6 separate regions of the Homo sapiens genome follow, and all the other regions are linked to region 1. Evidence: promoter capture Hi-C in 16 types of primary human blood cells and fetal thymus (Javierre and others, 2016). All regions are on one chromosome and are shown on one strand. The core of a region is centred on a gene start or on the middle of the fragment in contact, and the rest is flanking DNA. Distances in the headings are between cores, read along the strand shown.

The links. Contacts are between HindIII fragments. The CHiCAGO score rates a contact against its expected background, and 5 or more counts as called.
Region 2: a contact is called between a fragment that was not itself captured here and the fragment with the promoter of DEFB136 in region 1, in 6 of 17 cell types (activated CD4 T cells, M1 macrophages, M2 macrophages and 3 more). The highest score is 6.0, in activated CD4 T cells.
Region 3: a fragment that was not itself captured here is called in contact with the fragment with the promoter of DEFB136 in region 1 in 12 of 17 cell types (naive B cells, neutrophils, M1 macrophages and 9 more); the score reaches 8.6 in naive B cells.
Region 4: a contact is called between a fragment that was not itself captured here and the fragment with the promoter of DEFB136 in region 1, in 4 of 17 cell types (M2 macrophages, endothelial precursors, erythroblasts and 1 more). The highest score is 5.7, in M2 macrophages.
Region 5: a fragment that was not itself captured here is called in contact with the fragment with the promoter of DEFB136 in region 1 in 9 of 17 cell types (non-activated CD4 T cells, M2 macrophages, M1 macrophages and 6 more); the score reaches 9.1 in non-activated CD4 T cells.
Region 6: a fragment that was not itself captured here is called in contact with the fragment with the promoter of DEFB136 in region 1 in 7 of 17 cell types (endothelial precursors, activated CD4 T cells, naive CD4 T cells and 4 more); the score reaches 7.7 in endothelial precursors.

Annotation. Positions count from the first base shown.
Region 1 is chr8:11,973,251-11,975,950 of GRCh38, reverse strand. DEFB136 (defensin beta 136) reads left to right here and starts at 1,352. Exons shown (of 2, transcript NM_001033018.2): 1 at 1,352-1,406; 2 at 1,833-2,014. The coding sequence starts at 1,352. The coding sequence ends at 2,014. The HindIII fragment of the contact is 18,049 bases long and covers 1-2,700 here.
Region 2 is chr8:11,619,600-11,622,299 of GRCh38, reverse strand. No RefSeq gene overlaps it. Among named protein-coding and RNA genes, the nearest start is that of LINC00208, 44 kb to the right of the region's middle. RefSeq lists an enhancer at 934-1,434. The HindIII fragment of the contact is 4,298 bases long and covers 1-2,700 here.
Region 3 is chr8:11,716,084-11,718,783 of GRCh38, reverse strand. All of the region lies in intron 2 of GATA4 (GATA binding protein 4), which reads right to left. Among named protein-coding and RNA genes, the nearest start is that of SNORA99, 12 kb to the right of the region's middle. The HindIII fragment of the contact is 2,161 bases long and covers 176-2,336 here.
Region 4 is chr8:11,661,486-11,664,185 of GRCh38, reverse strand. No RefSeq gene overlaps it. Among named protein-coding and RNA genes, the nearest start is that of GATA4, 41 kb to the left of the region's middle. The HindIII fragment of the contact is 736 bases long and covers 970-1,705 here.
Region 5 is chr8:11,528,830-11,531,529 of GRCh38, reverse strand. The region is part of intron 1 of BLK (BLK proto-oncogene, Src family tyrosine kinase); the gene reads right to left. Among named protein-coding and RNA genes, the nearest start is that of BLK-AS1, 28 kb to the left of the region's middle. The HindIII fragment of the contact is 224 bases long and covers 1,232-1,455 here.
Region 6 is chr8:11,598,377-11,601,076 of GRCh38, reverse strand. No RefSeq gene overlaps it. Among named protein-coding and RNA genes, the nearest start is that of LINC00208, 23 kb to the right of the region's middle. RefSeq lists an enhancer at 803-1,639. The HindIII fragment of the contact is 6,914 bases long and covers 1-2,700 here.

The sequences.
Region 1 (2,700 bases), core at 103-2,602:
TCTCTACTAAAAATACAAAAATTAGCCAGGTGTGGTGGTGGGCACCTGTAGTCCCAGCTACTTCGGAGGCTGAGGCAGGAGAATCGTTCGAACCCAGGAGATGGAGGTTGCAGTAAGCCGAGTTTGGGCCATTGCACTCCAGCCTGGGTGATGAGCAAGACTGTCTCAAAAAACAATAATAATAATAATATTGAGTACCTACTGTATGGCAGTGTGCGTGCAAAGCATTTTATAAGCTGTATCTCATTTCATCCTGAAAAAAAACCACGCATAACCTTCCAATGCACTTTTTGAGGAGTTCTTGAGGCTGAGATGCTAAATAATGCATCTGAGGGTCTAGGCCTGCAAAGCAGAGTGTACCCAGGAATACCATGCTCCACTGACACACCACACACAGCCCTGTGGTTGTTGGCTGCCTGCGTAAAAGCCTGCCTTAAGGGTCAGAACAAAATCAAAGTTAGTGTCATCTTCACCCTCAGACATCCCTCATCACCCCAAGAGAGACAGGCCTAAGGGCCCTTCTCCAGGGCTGAGTCTCTGTCACTCCAGAGAAGCCCTGTCTGGCTCCACTCTGGACACTGTGCATCCAACCTTGAACACAGCACTGAACCGACTCTTCTAAGGGAGAGTTTCAACTCCTCAACTCCAAAAAAGAAATCTCTCCTAGAACCTTCAGAGTCCCCTCATCCTAGCCAACGTTTCATACCAGCCATTTGGAGAACAAAGTCCATCAGTGAACTTTTCCAGGACTTTTTTTTTTTTTTTTTTTTGCAGTATCTGCCTTCAGCCAGGTAAATAAGTCAGCTGCTAGACAAGGAAGCTGTCCCTTCTCCACTAGTTCTGAGCCCCTACCTTCTCTTGGTCAGGCCACTGGTTGACAATTTGAGAGACTCCGTGTGTCGGAACTGTCTTTCCAGGCTTAAATTCAGCCTGTGTTTCATAACACCCTTTCTCTGCGCTCCTGAGCTTTCAGTGGTGCTCCAGAGGAAAGGAGAGACAGAGCAGACATTTTCACTGCCATGTTTATATCAAAGTACATTTGAAGGCAGAGGGAAAGCGCTCAGGCCTAGGCATGGGGATCCTGGTCTTTTCTCCTATTCTGCTATCAGGAAACGTGACAGCCTTAGCTGAGTCTCTGGTTTTCCCGCGGTTTGTAGAAAAGGAGGTAGCACTGAAAGGCCAGGGCCTTTTCTTCCTCGAATTCTGCAGAACCCTGTGATCTCCTCAGTCTGCCCCTCCAGGAAGAGTGAGGCCAGGGTCCAGCCCCACCCATCGCAGCCCAGCCCAGCTCTATAAAGGAGCCTCCCAGGCAGACACCACTGGGAGTTCCAACTCTGTGCCCTCTTCGGCCATGAACCTCTGTCTTTCTGCATTACTCTTTTTCCTGGTGATCTTACTGCCTTCAGGTAAGACAGTGGGCGTGAGTCTGAACATAAAAGTGGGTGTTCCCAAAGATTGAGATGCTTAAAAAACCCTCTAACTATAAGCCCAGCAACAGGACACCAATATCAAATGGGCCACCATGTTAGGGGCATGGTGAGCGGACCCCAGCTCCTGCCCTGCTCTGCTGTTGCTGCAGCTGGAAGATCTGCCAGTGCACCGGGGACGGGGGTGGATGTCATTGTGCACACAGATCGTGCAGCCACCCAGATTCCTATCTCCCCTCCAATGCCTCTGGCTACCCTGAGCTTTATCTGCCTTGCTGAGTTGTGATAAGAGGTGAGGTAAATCACAACTAACAAGCCATCAACCAGGAGGTGATGGCAAGCCTAGGATTTCTCCCAGCCTCATTAAGATTGATTTTTCTTTTCTGTGGTCTCTCCCCGCTTCAGGAAAAGGTATGTTTGGGAATGATGGAGTCAAAGTTCGCACCTGCACTAGCCAGAAAGCCGTATGTTTCTTCGGGTGTCCGCCAGGATACAGGTGGATTGCGTTCTGCCACAATATTCTGTCTTGCTGTAAAAATATGACACGTTTTCAACCCCCGCAAGCCAAAGATCCATGGGTTCATTAAAAGGATATGTGAATGGCTCAAAGTACTACACTCCTAATCTGTGTGTCAGGATCTTAGAGCTCGTAAGTGAGCCATGGGCAGAAATGAGGACCACATTCTGACAATTTACTGGCAAAATTCCAGAAACATTTTGTAAAGGCAGCACTGCCATGAAATGCATCCCCTGTTATTTTTCCTACCCTCCCATCTCCAATCACTCATTCCTCTTTCAAATTCAAATTCAGGCCAGGCGCAGTGGCTCACGCCTGCCCGCCTGTAATCCCAACACTTTGGGAGGCTAAGGTGAGCAGATCACTTGAGGTCAGGAGTTTGTGACCAGCCTGGCCAACATGGTGAAACCTCATCTCTACTAAAAATACAAAAATCTTCCGGGTGTGGTGGGTGCATGTAATCCTAGCTACTCAGGAGGCTGAGGCAGGAGAATTGCTTGAACCCGGGAGACGGAGGTTGCATTGAAAAGAGATCACGACACTGCACTCCAGCCTGGACAACAGAGTGAGATTCCGTCTCAAAAAATAATAATAAAAATTCAAATTCTATTGATTAATACAAGTTCACAGGCCCAAGCAATGATATATTCTGGCCATAGAAACAAAAGCTAACCACACACCAGTCACACACTTGAGTGGTTTACATCTATTAGGGAAATTACTCCACACAATAAAATCTACAATTTCTCCCATTTG
Region 2 (2,700 bases), core at 88-2,587, 350 kb after region 1:
AAAGACAAAAATTAGCTGGGTGTGTTGGTGAGCACCTGTAATCCCAGCTACTCAGGAGGCTGAGGTATGAGAATCACTTGAACCTGGGAGGTGGAGTTTGTAGCGAGCCAAGATCATGCCACTGCACTCTAGCCTGGGTGACAGAATGATAATCCATGTCAAAAAAAAAAGAAGAAGAAGAAGAAGTGAGGAGAGGCTACTATAACCACAGTGTGTGGTCATTATTAGATATTAGATTAGATATGAATTATTAGATGCATCTGGCATGCAGAAGATATTTAGGAAACCATAGCTATTGCTACTACCCTTAATTTCTGGATTACACAGAGAAGGGATGCTAATTCCCACTCCTTCCCATGCCAATAATTTTGTCTCCTGTTCTGACTGAGAAGGTTGAGGTGTCTGGAATGAGGATTAGCAGATGGTCCCATAAAGAGGGAGTCCTCTGTTTATGGGAGAGTCCCTCCAGTTCTGCATATGTTTGCTGAACATGCATTGATTGTGTGGCACCCCACCTCGCTGCTGATACATTATTTTAAAATCAAACTCTTTGTTTTGGTATTTAGAAGCATATCTTTGATTCTCCGTAAACAGTTATGTAACCACTTTTTTCATAGTAAACCATACATAGTTAAGGGCTACATATTTTCAGTCTAATTAAATAAATTCAATAGATATTTACTAAGTGCCAACTCTGTGCCAAGGCTGGACCAGGCCCTGCAGCTGGAGATGGAAGATGGTGTTTCCTTGAGAAGATTACCATAAAGAAGAGAGACGAGAGTCATCACTACAGCACAGGTGTGTTAAAGGGAGAATAGATAGTTTTCGAGTGTTGTGGAAGCATAGGAAGGAGGAATTAATTCCTCTTGGGGAAACGGAGGAGGAATAGCAGCAAGGCGGATCTGACATGTAAGGGTGTGAACGCCCCCAAGGAGCAGGGGCATTCTAGACACTGTGGGTAAACTTGCTGATGGCCTCCTGTGGCTTCCGCTTGGGCTTGGTGGGGAGGAGAGGAGAAAGTAAGGCTGGAGAGGCAGGTGGGCTGGGAATGCTGAGGCTGGAGCTTGACAGTAAGAAGCCCTGAAGTGTTTTCATCAGGATTTGAGGTGATGGAGTGGCATTCCGGAAAGATCCCTTAGGCAACAGTGGGAAGAATGAAGCAGAGAGAGGCAAATTGGGGCTGAAAGAGTAGCAGGGGCTGTTGAAATAGCCCAGAGGAGCTGCAGTGATGGTCTGAGCCAGGGCAGCAGCAGTGGGGATTTCTCGGGGGCTTTGGACGGAAAATTGACAGGAGGTGGCTGGAGGTCAGACGTGAGGCTCCAGGGCGGTGAGGATGGCTCCCAGGCTTTCCGCTCCAGTGACTTGGGGAACACAGTTGGAATATTGTGAGCGTTTCATTGACTTCACCAGAGGTGTGTGAGCCCTCTGTCTTCTCCTGAGCCTCAAGAAGTCTGGGAGAGGATGAAATAGGGGAGGGAGGGCATGGGAACCAGGCAGGGTAGGAAAAGCCAGGCTGCCTATTGTGGTCAGACCTCACCACTCCCCGATTTCCTGGCAGACACGGAGAACAGGGATACCGGGCTGGGCACAGGAGTGGGGCCTCGACAAGCAAGAGAAGCCCCCTCCAGAAGCAGCCCCGGGAGCCGTCCTCTGGGGAAGCAGATGGTCCAGGAAGCAAGAGGAGGGAACAGGGCCTCATACACAGGTGTCAGAGGATCCTAAGAACATTCTGGACTGGCAGCTTTCTCTGTGGGTTTTCATGGGCTCAGCGGCTGCCTGGGTGGGACGCTGATCCTGGCTCACTTTCAGGCATCGAGGAGACTGACAATCTCCTCGTCTTATCCACGTTCTCCCTCCAAATTCATTAAGTTAAATACACACACACACACACACACACACACACACACACACTAAGACAGTTTCAAATGTGCTAAGCTAGGCAATAGATTTATATATTATAAAGAGATTCTATTCTCTAAGAACTAAAAACAATACTATAAATGCTCCAATTACAACTTACTTTTAAACTTAATGTTTGATGATATCCTTTTGTACTTGTCCTCTCATCGTGCTGGTCTCTGATTTTGTGCCTTTCCTCTGATTTTCCTTCACAGGTGAACACAATCGACCAGCCAAGGTGATTCACACACTTCAGCTTGAAGCTGATCTGCCACTTGTGTCTTCTTGTCTCTATTGAATTAAGTTCCTGAGACCTAATCCTTCCCATCACTAGTATCGGTGCTTTTATTTTTGTTTTCTACTTAGTTGGATAACATAGTGAAGGAAAATGTGCTAATATAATAGAAATAATTGCATTAATAAGCCTGGTAAACAGGCAGAGACAGTGGGAGCCATGGCCAGAGGCAAGCTGCTGGCAGCCAGGCAGTACCACCATACAAAAGCTCACAAATTTCTTTCAAGAAATGCCATACGGCTGGGCATGGTGGCTCATGCCTGTAATCCCAACGCTTCGGGAGGCCTAGATGGGTAGATCACTTGAGGTCAGGAGTTCAAGACCAGCCTGGGCAATATGGTGAAACCCCCCGTCTCTACTAAAAATACAAAAATTAGTCAGGCATGGTGGTGCATGCCTGTAATCCCAGCTACTCAGGAGGCTGAGGCAGAAGAATCGCTTGAACCTAAGAGGCAGAAGTTGCAGTGAGCCGAGATCATGCCACTGCACTCCAGCCTGGGTGACAG
Region 3 (2,700 bases), core at 7-2,506, 260 kb after region 1:
TAAGGTTTGACTGGATTTCTAGAAGTAGAAATGGAGATTTCAACTGGGGAGTAGAAAGGAAGATTTAAAAAATAACTTAAGGACTGATTAGATTTTAAGAAGCAAAACTGGATTTGCGATTAGGGGATCCCAAAACCCATGGCTTTGATCTGCCTGGAAGAATCGTGAGGAAGCTTGAGTACAAAGGAAAACTCCAAAATTCAAAATTCCCACCAAATTGTGGTAGTAACTTCTTGATTTTTTATCCTCCAAAATAAAATATATCTGTAACTATTCAATGTGGGTTACAGACAGCCTCAAATTTTACTTGCAGAGGCTTTTCAATGACTTTAAACACACAGAATGGCCCACCTGTCTGGATTTTACTCCTCCTTTGGAGGGAAAATATATTTTAAAACATCAGGTCAATTCTTGGGCTCCTGCAAAATGCAGAAGGCCAGAAAACCAAATTCCCATCATTCAGATAAGAAACTTGAATATCGTGGCTCAATTCTGATTACAGAGCAGTAATAGATAAAAGCATAGGCCACCTGCCAGAAACAAGAAAACTTCCACTGATGGGCTGCTACATTCAGTTCAGACCAATTCCACGGGGCTTTTCCTGCCTGGGGTTTTAGTCATTGTCTTGATCCATGCCCCATTCTTATCTTTACTAAAATCATCATTATTGTGCTTTTATTATGATTTTCTCCTCTTCTTTCTCTGCTTTTACCACAAATATATTTGAAATCTTCAGAGAAAAGGGAACACAGAGGGTCAGTTATAGATTTCTCTTAGGAAAGGGATTTTTGAGTGAGCCATATGGTTTTGCTCTTAAGCAGCCAACAGTTCCCCTAGAGTTAGGAGAATCCTCCCATTGGAAGGGTCTGAATCCTGGGAAGTCTCTTTAGTTCTCTGCACACCAGAATCCAACGGCTAGAAAGGAAGTTTGTGCAACACTGGGATTCCTAACATTGCATTCCTGAACTGCAGAGCTTACAGTTGAGGAATGATACGGAAGATTCCGTAGGACGACATTGCTCCTAGAGAGACAGTGATTGGTGGGAAGCAAACGGAAACTCAGACAAGAAGCTACCCTGGGGAGAGGAAGCGGATGGGAGCGACAAGTCATGGAAAATCCTAAGGTTTAATAGAGCCCTTCAATCACACATAGCTTCTGGTTCTGAAGAGCCAAGTGCCCTCATATCAGATTTGGCAAATACAAAGTGTGGGGAAAGGGGGAAAGTACAATCCTGCAGGTTGGACTTACCTGGGTTCCAAACCAGGGCTGTTTACTACCCACGGGGACCTGAGATTACAGGCTCTTTCTGGGTATCAGCTTTCTTTCCAGCAAAACAGAGATCATCGTATCTACCTCTTGGAGAAAGACTTCAAAGTCCCTGGCATCAGATGATTTCTTCATTGACAGGGATCCACCTTACTGTTCAATGGAATGACATGCAAGATACAGGCTACTCTCGCTAAAAAGTTGTTAGCCAGTATCCAAACGTGAATGTGCCAAAACTTATAAATGTATTTTGTATAAATTAAAACAGATTCAAGATTATTCCTATTATAACCCCATTTATATTTTCTTCCCTGCCTTCTTTAGAAGGTAACAAAAGAGTAGCTCTAGAGATAGCCATTAAATTACTCTTAGTAACCAGTTTATGTTGTATGGCATATGGGGCCATGTCATGGTCTACCAGAGGTCAATATAGCAGAGCGATACTCCTTCCCAACAGAGCCTTAACAGCTGGTTCTGCAGGCAGGCTAGGACAAATAAGTTCCCAAAAGACAAATAGTTTCAGATGTCAGAAAAGTTGCTTCAAGTTCTTAAAGCAGCAGCTCGCGTTGGCAAGAACTGCCCTCTTCTGGAACAAGGAAAGGAAAACTAGCATACTTCCTCTTTCTTATGCAGACACAAGCAGCTACATTTGCAACTGGCTTCAGCTCTAAATTCAGTACAACTAAATTGTCTTAAAATTTGTTTAAAAGAATCACCTTGCCCTGGAGGAAGGTAACTTGTTCTTCACACAATCCCACCGCTGCAGCCGGTTAGTGGTTTTCAGGCAGGTTCTAACTCCAATATAACCTGAGGGAAAACTGCCTACCTGGAGAGGTCACCATTGCCTAGTACGTGACTGTTTGTGCCCACAAGTGGGGAAGCCACAGTAGTGTGGGGCTGGGGTGTCCGCCCATTGCTGATTTAGATCCACTACCAGCACTGAGACCAGGAGTAGAGATTTCCCCCTCTCAGTAAAGCAACCTCCTGTGAAATAAGCAAAATCAAAAGCCAAATACAGGATTGCCACTGAGGATGGTTTTGATCTGCCTTGAAGAATCTTGAGGAAGCTTGAGCATAAAGGAAAACCCCCAAAATTGTAAAAGAATAGGTAAAAGACAAATTTAATAAAAAACAACTTATGCCTTAAAGCAGTTTTCCTGTGCATCCATAAACACTAAATAGAGAATCTTCTTTAAAAAAAAAAGAAAAAGATGCTACTTTCAGGTTGATTCATGAATATCATGTATCTGTTTTTTAAAACTTAATTAGTTTAATATGTTTTTAAAATTAGGTAATATAGTCACATTCTCCAAATTCAAAAGGTTTCATTTGCATACCCATGTTCATAGCAGCATTATTCACAGTAGCCAAGACGGAGAAGCAACTCAGGTGTCCATCCATGGATGAATGGATAAACAAAACGTGGTCTACAC
Region 4 (2,700 bases), core at 88-2,587, 310 kb after region 1:
CAGTTCATTCTTGTAGCAGCAGCTGAATCCAGTTTTCAGTTTTGTCTTTTTTTTTTTTTTTTGAGATGGAATCTCACTCTGTAGCCCAGGCTAGAGTGCAGTGGTACGATACTTGCTCACTGTAACCTCCGCCTCCTAGCTTCAACTGATTTTCCTGCCTCAGCCTCCTGAGTAGCTGAGATTACAGGCATGTGCCACCACGCCCAGCTAATTTTTGCATTTTTGGTAAAGATGGGGTTTCACCATGTTGGCCAGGCTGGTCTGGAGCTCCTGAGCTCAAGTGTTCCCTCCATCTCCACCTCCCAAAGTGCTAGAATTACAGGTATGAGCCACCACGCCCAGCCCAGTTTTTCTTATTCTTGCAGAAACAAACTCTTCAAGATGCTGTCAGAGATGCCAGTACTGTCTGTCACTCACCCCCTCCTCAGACATATGTTTCCAGCCCCATGGGCCTCTCCTCCAAGTGTCTAAATGTTAATAATTTCAACCTTTTTCTTCTGATTGCCCAACTTTACAAGTAATATCTGCCTCTGCAGTCTCTACCTTCATCATACGTTAGGATTATCTTTCTGCTTTAGTGGTTTTTCCATGCCTAGTTAACAATTCCTTTTATTATATTATCTGTTAAAAATACTGATATAGTTTCTGTCTCCTCACTGGTCCCTGGCTGGTACCCCAGCTCATAAGATAGTTTTATACGGTAGCTGGTTATAAAAGAAGTTTCTGAAGAAATTAACTTTCATACCAACACTAACTAGTTAAGAAACATAATTGGGTGTTTATCTGAAATTCACTTGTGACTGGGTATCCTGCATTTTTATCTGCTAAAGCTAGAAACCCTCAATATGGAGAGCCTGCTCCAAGTGTTTTGGGATCAAGGGATGGGATAAGTGTTGATGGGGATGCTGTGTCAATGGTGGGATCCTACACAGGGCTACTGGCATTATGATAGCGTCCTGTTCCAAAGCTTGGATTAGCACACTAGGACAACCCAGGGTTGAAGATAAGTGAATGCTTTACAAAGATGGTGTCTGAAGGGTGGTGAATTTCCCAGGAATATTATCCACACACATTACAATATATTGGACATAATGTCAGCTCTACCTACTCTCTCCAGAATTCTTGTCTTATTATTCGTTTTTGTCAAGTCACTCAAATACACCAATTCGCTGCTGTCTCAGAGCCACCTCCCATTAAACTGACCTCTGACTACAATGGTACTAGTTGAGTCCATGAGGCCAATAAACCTGGGGGCCTTGTGGGCTGGGGGGGAAGGAGCCAGGCCACCCGGAGCTGGCCTGAATCAGTCTTTCTGGGAGTAAAGTCTCTCCTGAGGGAGGTGAATGAACTCTGTTCTCACCCAGCTCACAAGCCACGTTTTCCTGGTGGCGCTAACAGTGCATTCGCCTCCCTTGAATGGCTTGGGTCACAGAACGGTTTGTTCTTGTTTGTTGAATAATAGTACCAGGGAACTACCACCACCACCACCACCATCCCCTTTACATACAAAACACAGAAATTCAAACATTTAGGTTCAAATTTGTATCCAAGAAAGGTCTGGAAAGACCCTGCAAATGTAAAAATAGTTACTCTGGGAGAATGAGATTAGGGGGTTGGGTAGTGGGAGTAAGGCAGTGCTTTTCTTTCTTTCTTTCTTTCTTTTAAAACATTTTATTCACTGCTGCATTGCTTGAAAACAAAAGCTTTACAAACAGAATGTAATGTTAATAATTTGTAACAGACCAGTAACAAAGCAATAACAATAGAAACAAAATTTGAAAATAAAACCCACTTCCAAACACAACTATTTTCATGTTTTGAAATACTGTTTCCCCCCACACACACAATTATTGCAGTTCATAGGATGTGAGCAATTTTTTTTTTATTCTGCTATGTTCCTTAACATTTTACTACAATTTTTCTTTGCATTGCTAAAAATTCTTTCTGAGCACACCCGTTTCAGGGCTAGAAGGGTAGCTTTGAGGACAGCTTGTAGCAAAACTTGTCTTTCCTGAGCCCTGCCTTACCCAGCTAAGGAAGGTGGAGGTGGGGAAGGGGTTAGTTTATCTTGGGCAAGTTCCTTCTTTTCTCTGGGCCTCAATTTTGGTGTTTGTTTTTTTTTTTTTTTTTTCCATCTGGAAAAAGAGGCACTGGAAGCAGGTTCTCCCAGGGTCTCTTCGAGTTCTCATCTGTTACCCTCACCAAGCACATCATAAATAAGGATCATTTGGACATAATTCTTTGTAAATCTTTATTTAATCCACCAGCCTTCCTGTTCCAAGATCACTTGGCGCAATGCAGTTCATTTATCCTCATGATAAATACCTGGCAGTGGACAGAATTTTCCCTTTCATAGATGGAGAAACTGAGTCCAGAGGTGTGGGATGGAGGTGTGGGATGATTTACCACCGTTTCGGCCTCTTATCAGGGCAGCCCTGGGGTTCGGCTGCCCGTGCTATGGGTGATGCATAGCAGACGGGGTCTCCGTGGTGTGGACATCACGGCGGCTTACGTATGACTATTGCACAGATCCATCATGTGCCTGCGGCCTCCCTTTTTTTCCTCTTTGGACTTCAAGTCACTATTTCTCTGTGACATTTCTTTGGGATCTATTCGTGAATAAACCTTTGGAGCCAACACACACACACACACACACACACACACACACACACACGCACACACGACAATTTGGTCACACCT
Region 5 (2,700 bases), core at 94-2,593, 440 kb after region 1:
ATGATAAATAAAAACAATCTTAAAAGCTGCTTTAAAGAGGTACATTATATTCTTAGAAGAAAACCTAGAAGGAAATCTTTGTGACCTTGGTGTCACAAAGGATATAAAGAATATGAGTCAGAAGCATACAAACGTGACCTTCTATTCCCTTAGAATAGATTATTCCCTTAGAATAGAAGATCATAAAGTATACAAGAAAAATTGATAAATTAGACTTTTCAAAATTAAGAACTTCTGCACTTTAAAAACACCATTAAGAAAAGAAATAGCTAAATCAGAGACAGGCAGGACATTTTTGAAAAACATGTATCTATATGAGAATATATAATTAACTTTTAAACTCTATAAAAGAAGCCAAAAATTCAATTTAACAAACAGTTGAACAGAGAAGACAGCTGAGCAGCACACAAACCCATGAACAGGTGTTCGGTGTCGTCAGTCATTAGGGGAATGGCAACTAAAACCACAGTGAAATGCCACCACACAACCACCCAGATGCTAAAATTAGATGACCGATCATACCAAGTGTTGGCAAGCATATGGAGAAACTAGAATGCTCACCTGAGGCTGATGGTAAGGTGAAACGAAACAACTTTAGGAAACAATTTGGGAGCTTCTTAACCTGTGACCCAGATATTTCACTTCTTGTTGCTTATCAAAGAGAAATAAAAACATATGACCACAGAAAGACTTGACATATATGTTCTTAGCATTGTTACTCATATTAATTAGCTCCCAGCTGGAAACAACCAAAACATTCAGTAACTGGAAAAATCTTTTCGACTTTTCACTTAAAATTGTTGCTGATTCTTTTTGTTTTGTTTTTCAGAGTAAAGAAAACTTCTACTGAGCTATTTACAACTTTTAACAATTGAGCAAAATATACTCCTGTAAACAAAATTTAGAGCATATTTCTTTCTCTTTACCTGCCTTCTCCAGAATTTGGAAATTATTTGTGAGTATTTTTAACATAAGGCAATATAGTTACTTGAGTAAGTTCAATAAGAATGTGTTTTCTTTTGTAGCAAGACACAGTTGGAGACACTGCTTATTTTACCAAGGCTTTGACTGAAATGACATATTTTCAGACTGCTTTAAGAAATCGAGGCTGACCTACAGAGATGATGAAAGCCCCTTGGAGGAACTGACCTCCTACCTTGTCCTGTACAGGATTCCCGACCTGTGGCAAATAAAGAATGTCACTTTCTGACAGGCCCAGGAACTCCAAGCTTTGTTGGGACCTCAAGAAGAAAGGAATTCACCCAATTCATACAAGTATCTGCAGGCACAAATAAATCCTTGGCTGGGCTCAAGAGACTTTTAAAAGGTCTAATCTGAGATTCCTTATGAAAAAAATTCCAGCAAAGCCAGTTAGAAAAAAAGAGCCTATATGGCCAATAATTATTCTTGCTGCACTTTATGTAAATAATTAGGCAAAGTATAATAAGGCAAGCTTATTTTGCAAATAAATTGGTCTTGTCTTTAGTAAAAATAAACTGGAGAGAGAAAAATTATGTTTCAAAACAGCTACAGCACACCTGTTATTAGATTCCAGCCTCATCCATTGTTCTTGAGCTTCTGCTGATGACCCCATATTTGGTTGATTTTTGGGGTTATTCACCTGGATTCCTTGAGGCTTCAGGTCAGTTCTACAGGGACTCCTGAAGCTAGGACTTTTGAAACTGCCGCTGCAAAATTACAACTGAGACAGTGAAAGAGATCTAACCTAACCAACTGCATCTTGCTTCTAACCTCCAAGCTGTCCTTGGTCATTCCTGGGCATAGGCTGAACTAATTTTGGGAAGAAGTTAATTTATAGTTTGTAGTTAAAAATGAAGACAATAACAGCGCATTCCAGAAGAACCCTCCTTCTTTCCTGGGAACTAGATGCCTTTGTAGGACTAACAAATTAGCCACAGGATTAGAAATTATGATTTAGGAGTCATGCAGCTGGAGGCTACAAGATTCTGATCTCCCACCCCCCAAACTGCTCCTAAGATCAGCGCTTGAGATATTTTGCAGACCTGGCACTTGATGGATCAGCTGGCACCACCCAGATCAAGAAACCAGCTCATCTGATCTGTGGCTCCCACCCAGGAATTGACTCAGCGCAGGAAGACAGCTTTGACTCCCTGTGATTTCATCTCTGACCCAACCAATCAGCACTCTCGACTCACTGGCTTCCTCCACCCACCAAATTATTCTTAAAAACTCTGATCGCCGAATGCTCAAGGAGGCTGATTTGAGTAATAATAAGACTCCGGTCTTCCACACAGCTGGCTCTGTGTGAATTACTCTTTCTCTTTTGCAATTCCTCTGTCTTGATAAATTGGCTTTGTCTAGGCAGCGGGCAAGGTGAACCCACTGGGCGATTTACACTTTCACTCCTTATATTAGGGCTAATTATTATTATTACTATTATTTTAAATTTTAAGTTATGGGGTACGTGTGCAGAATGTGCAGGTTTGTTACATATGTAAACGTGTGCTATGGTGGTTTGCTGCACCTATCAACCCATCACCTAAGTATTCGGTCCAGCATCCATTAGCTATTTTTCCTGATGCTCTCCTTCCCGCTCCCCAATAGGCCCCAGTGTGTGTTATTCCCCTCTGTGTGTCCATATGTTCTCACCGTTCAGCTCCCACTTATAATTGAGAACATACAGTGTTTGGTTTTATGTTCCTGCGTTAGTTTGCTGAG
Region 6 (2,700 bases), core at 105-2,604, 370 kb after region 1:
GACAGTCTGAGAACACAGAACACCTGGGGCCAGAGACAGGCTATTGGGAAGGACTGGGGCTATCACACGAGTGAATTCTAAAATTGCGTGTGTGTGCGTGTGTCTATGTGTATGTACACATGTAAATCAGTATTTTTTAGTGCAAAGGATAAAGTGAACTGAGAATATCATAAACACAGGCTCTTTAGGGCTCCTTCAGCGAACAGATAGTCTCATTTGTAACAAACACGTGTTGTTGATTCGCCAAATGATACAATGCTGAAAAATAATGTGCTTTTCTCCAAAAATCCTCCAACTGTTCCCTCATTCCTACTTCTATACATAGGTACATTTCTTAGCAAATGCCGTGTCCTGGAATTCAAAAATCAGGCTAGAACGGTTACAGCCAAGAGGAGCCTCAGGAGGCATGATGATGACATATACTCCAGGGTCATGGAAGAAAAAAAAGGGCATTAGGTGACAACTAAGTATCTGAAAAAATATGGACTTTAGTTTGTAGTAACGTATCAATAATAGTATTGGTGCATTAATTTGACAAGTTTAACATACTAATGTAAGATGTTAACAATGATGGAAACTGCGTGGAGGAATGTGGGAACTCTCTGTACTATCTTTGCAGCTTTTCCATAAATCTAAATCTATGCTAAAATAGAAAGTTTATTAAAAACAATCCGGCTGGCCATTGGGGGCTCCCGCATGTAATCCCAGCATTTTGGGAGGCCAAGGCCGGTAGATTGCTTGAGCCCAGGAATTTGAGACCAACTGGGTAACATGGAACCTTGTCTCTACAAAAAAATACAAAAATTAGCTGAGTGTGGTGGTGTGCACCTGTAGTCCCAGCTACTCAGGAGGCCGAGGAGGGAGGATCGCATGAGCCCACGAGTCCAAGGCTGTGGTGAGCCCTGACCACACCACTGTGTTCCGGCCTGGATGACAGAGTGAGACCCTATCTCAAAACAAACAAACAAACAAACAAAAAACAATTGTGCCTGGCCTGGTTTGATGGACTCCTGTGCCAAATAAGGGTTACAGGTGGGAGGTGGGTGAGTTGAATGAAAAATCAGAAGGCTTGTGATGGCTTCATCTGAAGTCATCTCTGGGAGTGCTTTGCCATAAACATTCTTCTTTCCCTGTTGTCTCAGCTGACCCTTATGCCAACTGCCTGAGATATTATTATCCCATTTACAGATGGAGAAACCAAGTTTGGAGAGTGCTGTCGTTTGAATGTGTCCCCTCCAAAATTCATGCTGAAAGTTAATCCCCACGGTGGCAGTATAAAGGGGTGAGGGCCTCAGGAGGTGATGAGGCTGTGAGGGCTCCTCCCTTATGAATGATTCATGCCTCATCAAGGGGCAGTCCGGGGCCAGCTGAGGCCTTTCCCCCTCCCGCCAGGTGAGAAGGTGCCAGGTGAGCATGCGCCAGGTAAGCTCGCAGCAGGAAGGCGCCACCATGGAAGCAGAGAGCAGCCCTCTCTAGACACCAGTGTCGGCCCCTTCATCTCAGACTTCCGGCCTCCAGAACTGTGAGGAATCCATTTCTCTTCTTTATAAATTACCCAATCTATGGTATTTTGTTACAGCAGCACAAGCAGAGGGAGCAGTTCTGAGCCTCCCACCACCCATTCCACCCACGCAGCTGTGCCTTTTCACAGGCAGTCTCTGCACCCACGGCTCACTTTGCTCTGTGATCCTTCCCCCCTCTCTGCCTGACTGGTGGGCCAAACCTTAATATGCCTTCGAAATTTGCTCCTATTTCACCTCCTCTGAGGAGAATTCCTTGACAGTCCCTCCTAATTCACCAGGCCACACTCTGTATGTCTTCTGAGGCCTGTGCAAATGAATTCTCTCCTCCAGCTTTTCAGATCCTGTATTCAAGCACGCCCTCCTCCAGGGTTTCCTCTTTGAATCCACACTATCCAGCCTAATGCCTAGAGGACAGTGGCTGGGAGATTTGCATTTCTTGAATTGAATTGAAGCTGGCATGAAACCTGCATTAATCAGCTCAGGCTGCCATGACAAAGTCCCACAGACCAGGTGGCTTCAACACCAGCCGTTCATCTTCTCACTGTTCTGGAGGCTAGAAGTCCAAGCTCAAGGTGCCGGCAGGGTTGGTTTCTCCTGAGGCCTCTCCCCTGGGTTTGTGGATGGCCACATTCTTGCTGTGTCCTCACATGGTCATCCCTCTGTGTTTCTGTGGCCTAATCTCCTTTTCTTTTATTATTATTATTTTTGAGACAGAGTCTTGCCGTGTCACCCAGGCTGGAGTGTAGTGGCTTGATCTCAGCTCACTGCGACCTCCAACTCCCAGGTTCAAGCGATTATCCTACCTCAGCCTCCCGAGTAGGTACCACCATGCACAGCTAATTTTTGTATTTTTAGTAGAGATGGGGTTTTACCATGTTGGCCAGGCTGGTCTCGAACACCTGACCTCAGGTGACCTGCCTGCCTTGGCCTTCCAAAATGCTGGAATTGCAGGCTTGAGCCATGAAACCCAGACCCTAATCTCCTTTTTTTTTTTTTTTTTTTTTTTTTTTAAGACAGAGTCTTGCTCTGTCACCCACGCATGCAGTGGAGAGATGTTGGCTCACTGCAACCTCCACCTACCAGGTTCAGGCGATTCTCCTGCCTCAGCCTTCGAGTAGCTGGGATTACAGGCATGCACCACCACATCCAGCTAATTTTTGTGTTTTTAGTAGAGACA